Linked DNA regions of Homo sapiens: region 1 is linked to region 2. The links are contacts of gene promoters, found by promoter capture Hi-C in human tissues and cell types (Jung and others, 2019). All regions are on one chromosome and are shown on one strand. Each heading gives the region's core, a stretch centred on a gene start or on the middle of the fragment in contact. The rest is flanking DNA. Distances are from core to core; before and after follow the strand shown.

Region 1 (3,974 bases), core at 304-2,803, 620 kb before region 2:
GGACCATGGCAGTCAAGGGACATGGGACCACAGAAAGAAGATACCTCAAAGGGAAGTATGGGGCATCCCAGAAAAATATCGCCCACTTTCAAGTCTTCTTGGGCTATCATCCATCCTGAGAAGTCTGACTACCCACCTGTTGCTGCCGGCTGTCACTGCAAGGAGCCAACACCATGGGACAGCCCAGGATGTCCCCTTCTGCCTGGCAGTCTGCACAGAGCCCAAGTCCAGTGTTGTGGAGCTGAAAGTGGACACACACACAGGAGTGAATTCCAGATTCCACTGTAAAGACACCCTCGGTCAGACACCATTCCTTTGCTGTATTCTCTGGAGTGCAGCCCAAGGCACATTGTTCAGGCCACAACAACAGGTGTGGTAAAGCTGAAGCCACTGACCCTAAGGGACAGGCCTCTTGAAGGAGGTGCTTTGGGGTGGGTAATGGGGCAAAACTCAGCCACCTTCCTCAGACTGGCATGGAGGCACGGGATGGACCCAAGGCCTCTGAGGCCCTGCTAAACCGTGAATGGTTGACCAGGGACATGGAAGAGCTGAACATCTAGTTCTTGTCTTGGGAAGCTTCCCTGTCCCTCCCCATCTTCCCTGGGTCATGCCTTGCCTTTCCAGAGAAACTGGGCCTGGGTTCAGATGGGTACAGCTCAGGGTAGACATTAGCCAGAAACCAGTGGAATGTCCGACAACCCAGTCTCCTTTGCAGCTGCAAGCGTTCCATGCAGTCTGGCTTCTCAGCCTGGGGAGGAGAAAGACACAAGCAGGATGATGAAAGCTTGTCTTGCCCAGAATTCACATGGTTGGGGATGGAGTGGCTGGGAAGAAGCTAAAGGATCAGGACAGAAGGAAGGGGCCAAGACCACAGTTCTCCAGGGCTGCAGTGGGGAGGGTCATGTGTTGGGAGAAGAAGGTCTGGAAGGGATAGAATAGCACAGATCTTCCCTACAGAGAGTTGTGGAACCAGCAAGACTGTAAGTGATATCAGCCCCTTCCCACAATCCCTCAAATCTCCAGTCTATAAAGACTACAATAGGCCGGGAGTGGTGGCTCACACCTCCAGCACTTTGGGAGGCCGAGGCTGGTGGATCACTTGAGGTCAGGAGTTCAAGACCAGCCTGGCCAACATGGTGAAACCCCATCTCTACTAAAAATACAAAAAATTAGCCAGGTGTGGTGGCGCATGCCTGTAATCCCAGTTACTCAGGAGGCTGAGACAGGAGAATCACTTGAACCCAGGAGGCAGAGGCTACAGTGAGCCAAGATCGTGTTACTGTACTCCAGCCTGGGCGACAGAGCAAGACTTCCTCGCAAAAAAAAAAAAAAAAAAAAAAGAGAGAGAGAGAGAGTCTATGATATCTGTGCTTTAATGATTTTTCTGCAGAAGCTGGCAAAATGGTGGGGCTTTGCACCTAGCTTGGTGTAAGGAGAAACTACGAGGGGCCTCATGGAGTCAGGAACTGACCCATAGGCAATTGAGATGAAGTTGGTTGGGAAATCGTGGGCTAGGGGTTGGGGCAAGGCAAATTTATCTTTCTTCACCTCTGGGTACCATTAATGAATCATTCTTTTGGGCTACACTATCTCCTTTTTTTGAGATTCTCCTTTATGATACAATTGTCCTAGGATGGAGATGAAGGCAAATCCTGAACACTAGTACAAATTAATGTTTTTGGCCATATTGATGATACAAAGAACTGTATCCAAAAGTTTAGTACCAAATCTTGGATACTTTTAGGGAAGAGAGAGGTGACAAGGATGGGTTGGAATGACCACAGACAAAAAAAGAGAGAACCCTTTCCTGGCATGGGGAGAGGAAGCGAGCTGGCCATGTCAGAGTTCCCACTTGGTGGCCTCCAATCTGACAGTAAGACACGGGTCCACCAGGCTGTGTAAAGTATGATTGGTTTGGTTCTGCTTTCCCTCTCTCTTTTAGACCTCAGCTGGAAATGTGGTAAGTCTGTTGTACTGAAATTCTCTCTAGACACTTCTCAAAGTGTGATTCCCTGAGCATCTGCCTGAGAAATGCCACGGAGCTAGTTAAAAATGTAGATTCCTGGGCCCTGCCCCAGAGATGATACAGTTGTTTGGGTTGGAGGCCCTGGAATCTGCATTTTAACCATGTCTCCTGGTGAGTCTTTTTCACACAAAGTTTGAGAAAAACTTCTCTAAGTCAGGGATTTCTTGTTTATTCAGTGTATTTACCCACCATGAAACCAAGGGGATCTATTACTTTTTCCTCTAAGTAAATTAGTATAAGTTTCTTGATGGCTTCTTGGCATTCTTTGTGTTTATTTGAGACCTCCGTAGACCTTTCCCAGAGTTGGACTTTGCTACCAAAACAGAAACATTTCTTCATATGAGTTTTATCACCTTTACTTTCCTTGATAAAGAGATAAACTGATAAATCTACCCAATCTTTGTTTGACCTTGAGTGAGGGGCAGGCTGACAATGAACTTTCCCTTCTGTACAATTATGTCTGAGAGAAGAGAAAACAAGGAAATTTCAGCTCCCCAAGCAGCAAAAGTCTGGCCTTGTCTTTTGGGTGCCCAGGATTTCTGTCTCTCAGAATCCTTGTGGGGGTTTTGGGGTGGATGGAGAAATAGAAATCTTTAGGGCAAAATTAACTTTTGGTTATTTAAATTTAAAGTAAATTCATGCTATCAAATACCTTCAGGGAAGTAGGAATGTCACTGAAACCTTGAAATCAAAGTAAGTGATAGGACATTTCCAAAGCATGAATTAATGGAAATGCTCAACAGAGAGAGAAATAAAAGGAGCCCTCTGCTAAAGCTCTTCTCACTGACCAATAAGGGTGCCATTCTCCTTGCAAAAGTCATCAAATGAACAAAGTGGACATCTGTGAATCAGAGAATGGACACCCAAATGGATATAAGAAGAAAAAGGTACCTCACCTGTAGACTTTATGAAAGTAAGCCGAGCACTTATTCTCCATAGCACTCTTTCACATTTCATTTTATAGTATACTCACAACAGTTACTGAGTTCTTAGAGGTTAAATGACTTTCACAGGGTCAATAGCTTCTAAGAGGTCAGAGTGTTTTATTAGGTAGCTAGTCAGACATAAGCAGGGCAGGAGAGGATTTTCCCCGACCCCCCCAACCTCCAGGGATGTCAGGCCACCATCAGGTGTTGGTTAGGCAGCTGTTAACTGTCTCTCTAAAATAATAATTAGTTGCAGCTGGCACCAGGGAACGGCAGTCTCCCAACAGATAGAAAAACCTGAAATTGGTGATCAGCTTCCCGATATGATCTCAGGAGTTGGGCAAGTGGGCTCAAGCATGTGCACTAAGAGGCAAAATGGTGGCGTTTAACTGGTACATGACCTTCCTCCGGGAATGCGCAACTGGTAACGCCTCACGTGAGCATGCGAAAAATTTCAGTAAACACACTGCGCATGCTCCCCTCCCAAGGGCTAACAGGCCACTGCACGTGTGAACAGCCCCCGCCAGGGGAAGAATCAGGGAAAAAGGGACACAAGCCCCCAGAAGCATGCCAATGTATAAGACCCCAAGTGAAAAATCAAACTGCGCACTTAATTGATCGCTCAAGTCCCCCACTTGGCCCTGTTCCAAATGTACTTTACTTACTTTCATTTCTGCCCTAAACTTTTTTTTTTTTTCCCGAGACAGAGTCTTGCTCTGGCTCGCAGGCTAAAGTGCAGTGGGGCGATATCAGCTCACTACAAACTCCACCTCCCTAGCTCAAGCCATCCTTCCACCTCAGCCTCCCGAGTAGCTGGCACTACAGGTGCACACCACCACGCCCAGCTAATTTTTGTAGTTTTTTGTAGACACAAGGTTTCACCATGTTGCCCAGGCTGGTCTTGAGCTCCTGGTAGACTTTTTAATAAACTTTCACTCCTGCTTTAAAACTTGCTTTGGTCCCTCACTCTGCCTTATGCCCCTCAGTTGAATTCTTTCTTCTGAGAAGGCAATAATTGAGGT
Region 2 (3,887 bases), core at 266-2,765:
TTTTTCCCATGCTGTTCTAATGATAGTAAGTCTCATGAGATCTGATGGTTTTATAAAGGGCAGTTCCCCTGCACACGCTCTCTTGCCTGCCACCATGTAAGACATGCCTTTGCTCCTCCTTCACCTTCTGCCATGATTGTGAGGCCTCCGTAGCCATTTGGAACTGTGAGACCATTAAACCTCTTTTTCTTTATAAATTACCCAGTTTTGGGTATTTCTTTATAGCAGTATGAAAATGGACTAACACCGTCCACATATGCAGGGAGGCAACCACTTCACTCTCCTCTGCTTGGGGTGGGGTTGAGGGGTTGAGAAAAAGAGGGGAAGACCTTTTGAAAAGACCCAGGACTACAGTTTGAAAATGTCTGGGTTTAGAAATCGTTTCACTTCCAGTGCTTCTCACTCATTTCACTACCCATGACCCACTCCCCTCTCATCTCTTTACTGTCCACTTATCACTGTTCTTTTTGCTTAAAATGACTCCAAATCCTCAAAAAATTAAAAGTTCCACTGTTTATTACAATTGGAAATTTTATGTTTATTGTCACTGAGCAGAGGGTCTAATGACTCCAAGGCAGTAGTTTCAGATATTGCACATTGCAAACGATTTTCACACAAAAATGTTTTAAAAGGCTATCGGGTGCAGGGCTGGTTGTAGGTAGGGACCCAACCTAAGAATTATGAAACGCCATAGTTCCTAATTTTGGAAAGATATTAGCGGAGAGTAATATGGATTAGTAGCAAGGGCTGGAGAAAACAGTGCTCTATACTACCTTCAAGGTGCTCTTTTCATCGCTTGTGACCCAATGGCTGAATAGTGGGTAGGAAACAGGATTCAGGATCTCAGGCACGGTCTGGATCTACTGACTCTGAGCGTCATTTTATCTCTTGCTGGGGTACACATCTGCTTCTGGATTTAAGTAACGTGCGCTACAATAATTTAAGGACTATAAAACCACAAGGTTATGAGAGCGTAAACCACAAAGCGTGTAAGTAAATGCCTAGAAAACGCAACGCGGTAGCACAGCAGCAACGCACAAACAGCCCCAGCAAACGACGCGCGCCGGGCTTCCCAGCTCCCGGCAGCCTTTGCGCAGCCCTCCCCAAGTCCAACTGGGCGCCCGGGGCGGGGTCTGGACCGCACGCCCTTACCACACCCCCTCCGCGCCGCACCACGCCCCCTCCGTACCTGCTCTTAGCGCGCCTTCCGCCCTGAATATGCGCATGCGCCATTCTCCCTTTACAGCCCCGAAAACGCTCCAGCTGGCCGACTCGGAGACAATGGCGAGAGGCCTCAGAGTTCGGCTTCTTACCTGCTTTGCATAGGCAGCAATCTCCTGCTAGTCCCGCCTCCCTCTGGCATTCTGGCGCGCGAATGGAGGAGCCGAGAAGAGAGCGCAGTTCTGATTGGAGAACGCGCGTGTTTACATTCTCACCTCTCCCGGGAAGTGGACGAATTTAGACCGCCTCTTCCTTCCCGTTGTTTAAGGCAGTTGGTTGCCCTCCTGTCCGTCAGAGGTGCAGTACCAGAGGTGGCGTGCTGCCGATTTCGCGTTTGCCTTGCTGGATGATTCCGCTTGTTTGCCGGCTGCGTGAGTGCTTAGAGCTTTTCGGTGGAAGATGCCGGACAGTAACTTCGCAGAGCGCAGCGAGGAGCAGGTGTCTGGTGCTAAAGTCATCGCTCAGGCCCTGAAAACGCAAGTACGATGGACCTTCCTGGAATGAAAGGCTCCTACGGAAGCTGGCGGGGACCGCGATGTTGTCTTGGAGACGAGTAGAAATGGGCGATGGGGGTCGGGGGGTTTTCCTTTTAGCGCCCGGGAGGGAGGGAAGGATGTGGCGATATGGTGGGGCCTTGGGAGTTTACTCCCCTGTTCTTCGTTCCTCAGGATGTGGAGTACATATTTGGCATCGTAGGCATCCCAGTGACCGAAATCGCCATTGCTGCCCAGCAGCTAGGCATCAAGTACATCGGGATGAGGAATGAGCAAGCGGTGAGTATGGACTCAGGTGGCTGAATGCGTTACTGGGAATGATCAGTAATAGCGGTAGGTATGCATTGCAAACACCCAGATAGCGCTTACCACTCTTCTGCTACTTTACATATATCATATCAATCACTGTTGAATATTAACTGTTGTTACACCAAGTTGACAGATGAGAAAAGACACAGGTTAAGTAAAACTTGCCTTTGGTGACACAGCTGGTAGTAGCAGAGCCAGGGTTTGAACCCACGTATTCTGGGTCTGAGTCCATTCTCTTACTACTATACTGTATGTCATGATTGGAATGGACAGTTTATGAGTAAAGTCTGACTTCCCTATTAGGCTACAAGCTCCATTAGAGCAGGGATATTATTTCTTCACGACACATCTGTACCCCCAGTGCTTAGTGTGGTGCCTGCATAAGAAAGGTGTTCAGAGATTACCTGTGGGATAAATGAGTGAAGGCCAAGGCTTTGTTGTATGATTGGTTCGGGGCAGGGTGGAGGATATCACAAATGGTAGTGCCTTGATGGAAACTCAGATGGCTCAGATCCTAGCCTGATGCTTTTTCCACCACATCATGCTGCCACCTTTCTTAGAGGCTTATTTGGAAGCAGGATAAGGAAGATACGACGTTTTGTCAATCCACTTTAAGTGCATCCTCTGCCAATCCACCTTGCTCTTCTCTCAGTAGTGCGGGCTTGAAAGGTCAAGAATCCACTTCTGTGATATCACATACTCTCAGTCCAGCTGAGGCTAAATATTCCTGCTTTACACTCCCACCGTTGCCTTCTAATTTAAATTCTTGCCTCCTCTTGCCCAAACAACTGCCTGGCCACCCTAAGTGGTGCCTTTTGCCATCATACATGAGTGCCTGGAGGGCAGAAGTTGTGATTCATTTGTTATATCACCACAGTGCCTGGCTTGGTTTGTGCTTTCACGTGGTGTAGATGCTTAATATTATACATTATTTATTAATTGAATGACATTCTTTATTGAATGACATTCTTTATTGAATGACATTCTTTATCTACAAGGTTTGAGATTTGTATTTTTTAATCTTAAAACTAGGAGGTTTTGAGTTTCTGTTGCTTCTACATTTTACTTGTCTTTGTTAGAACAACATTCTGTTCTTTCATCTGTGTGAAAAAATGAAGCTATTGACCTATGAATGGAACCTATACTTAACTGTTTTTGTAGAGATGACATATCTGCCACTGATTTCTTCATACAGCAAACATTTATTGACTAAGTACTGTATACTAAGGATTGTGCTACATAACCTGTAGGAGAGAGGGATGTAAAGAAGGAGTGAGGTTTAGTCTTGATCTTCACGTTGATCAGTCCTGGAAGGTGAGGGTAAGACTTACAGAAAAAGACTCATCTATTATAACTCTCACAATAGATGTAGTAGCACAGAAGGGGTGACTGGTTCTCTTTGAGGACAGAGAAGATTGCCTGTAGAGGTAATGTTAGTTCATGTGGTTCCCTCAAGGTAGGTAAAGGCATGGTGAGCTGTGAGACTGGTAGGTAGGTTGAGGGGAGGTTGTGGGAAATCTAAAAAGAGTTTGAATTTTTTTTTTTTTTTAACAGTAGGCAATGGGGGAGACTAAAGGTTTTTCTAAACAGGTGGGCGATGTAATTAGATTTGTACTTCAGAAAGATGATGCGAGGCATGGTTGTACATGCCAGTAATCCCAGCTACGAAGGGGGCTGAGGCAGGAGGATTACTCAAGTCCAGGAATTAGAGGCTGCCTGGGCAACATAGCACGACCTCTGTCTCTAAGTTTTATTTCAGCCCCTATAAGCTTAGTTGAGGGTTCTTTAGGTCCCATGTGCTGTGTTGGGTGCTGGATACAGAGATGAATGATAGTTCCTGGCTTTAAGGGGCTTACAGCCAAG

The links. Contacts are between HindIII fragments. The study calls those that stand out against the background at their distance.
Region 1: a fragment that was not itself captured here is called in contact with the fragment with the promoter of HACL1 in region 2 in 2 of the 25 tissues and cell types used here (IMR-90 fibroblasts and lymphoblastoid cells).

Annotation. Positions count from the first base shown.
Region 1 is chr3:16,216,177-16,220,150 of GRCh38, reverse strand. GALNT15 (polypeptide N-acetylgalactosaminyltransferase 15) reads right to left here. Exons shown (of 10, transcript NM_054110.5): 7 at 617-748; 8 at 137-241. Among named protein-coding and RNA genes, the nearest start is that of GALNT15, 43 kb to the right of the region's middle. The HindIII fragment of the contact is 3,407 bases long and covers 1-3,256 here.
Region 2 is chr3:15,599,197-15,603,083 of GRCh38, reverse strand. It overlaps HACL1 (2-hydroxyacyl-CoA lyase 1), which reads left to right and starts at 1,515. Exons shown (of 17, transcript NM_012260.4): 1 at 1,515-1,701; 2 at 1,890-1,994. The coding sequence starts at 1,621. BTD (biotinidase) reads right to left here and starts at 1,339. Exons shown (of 4, transcript NM_001370658.1): 1 at 1,190-1,339. RefSeq lists a silencer at 1,067-1,126 and an enhancer at 968-1,610. The HindIII fragment of the contact is 8,334 bases long and covers 1-3,887 here.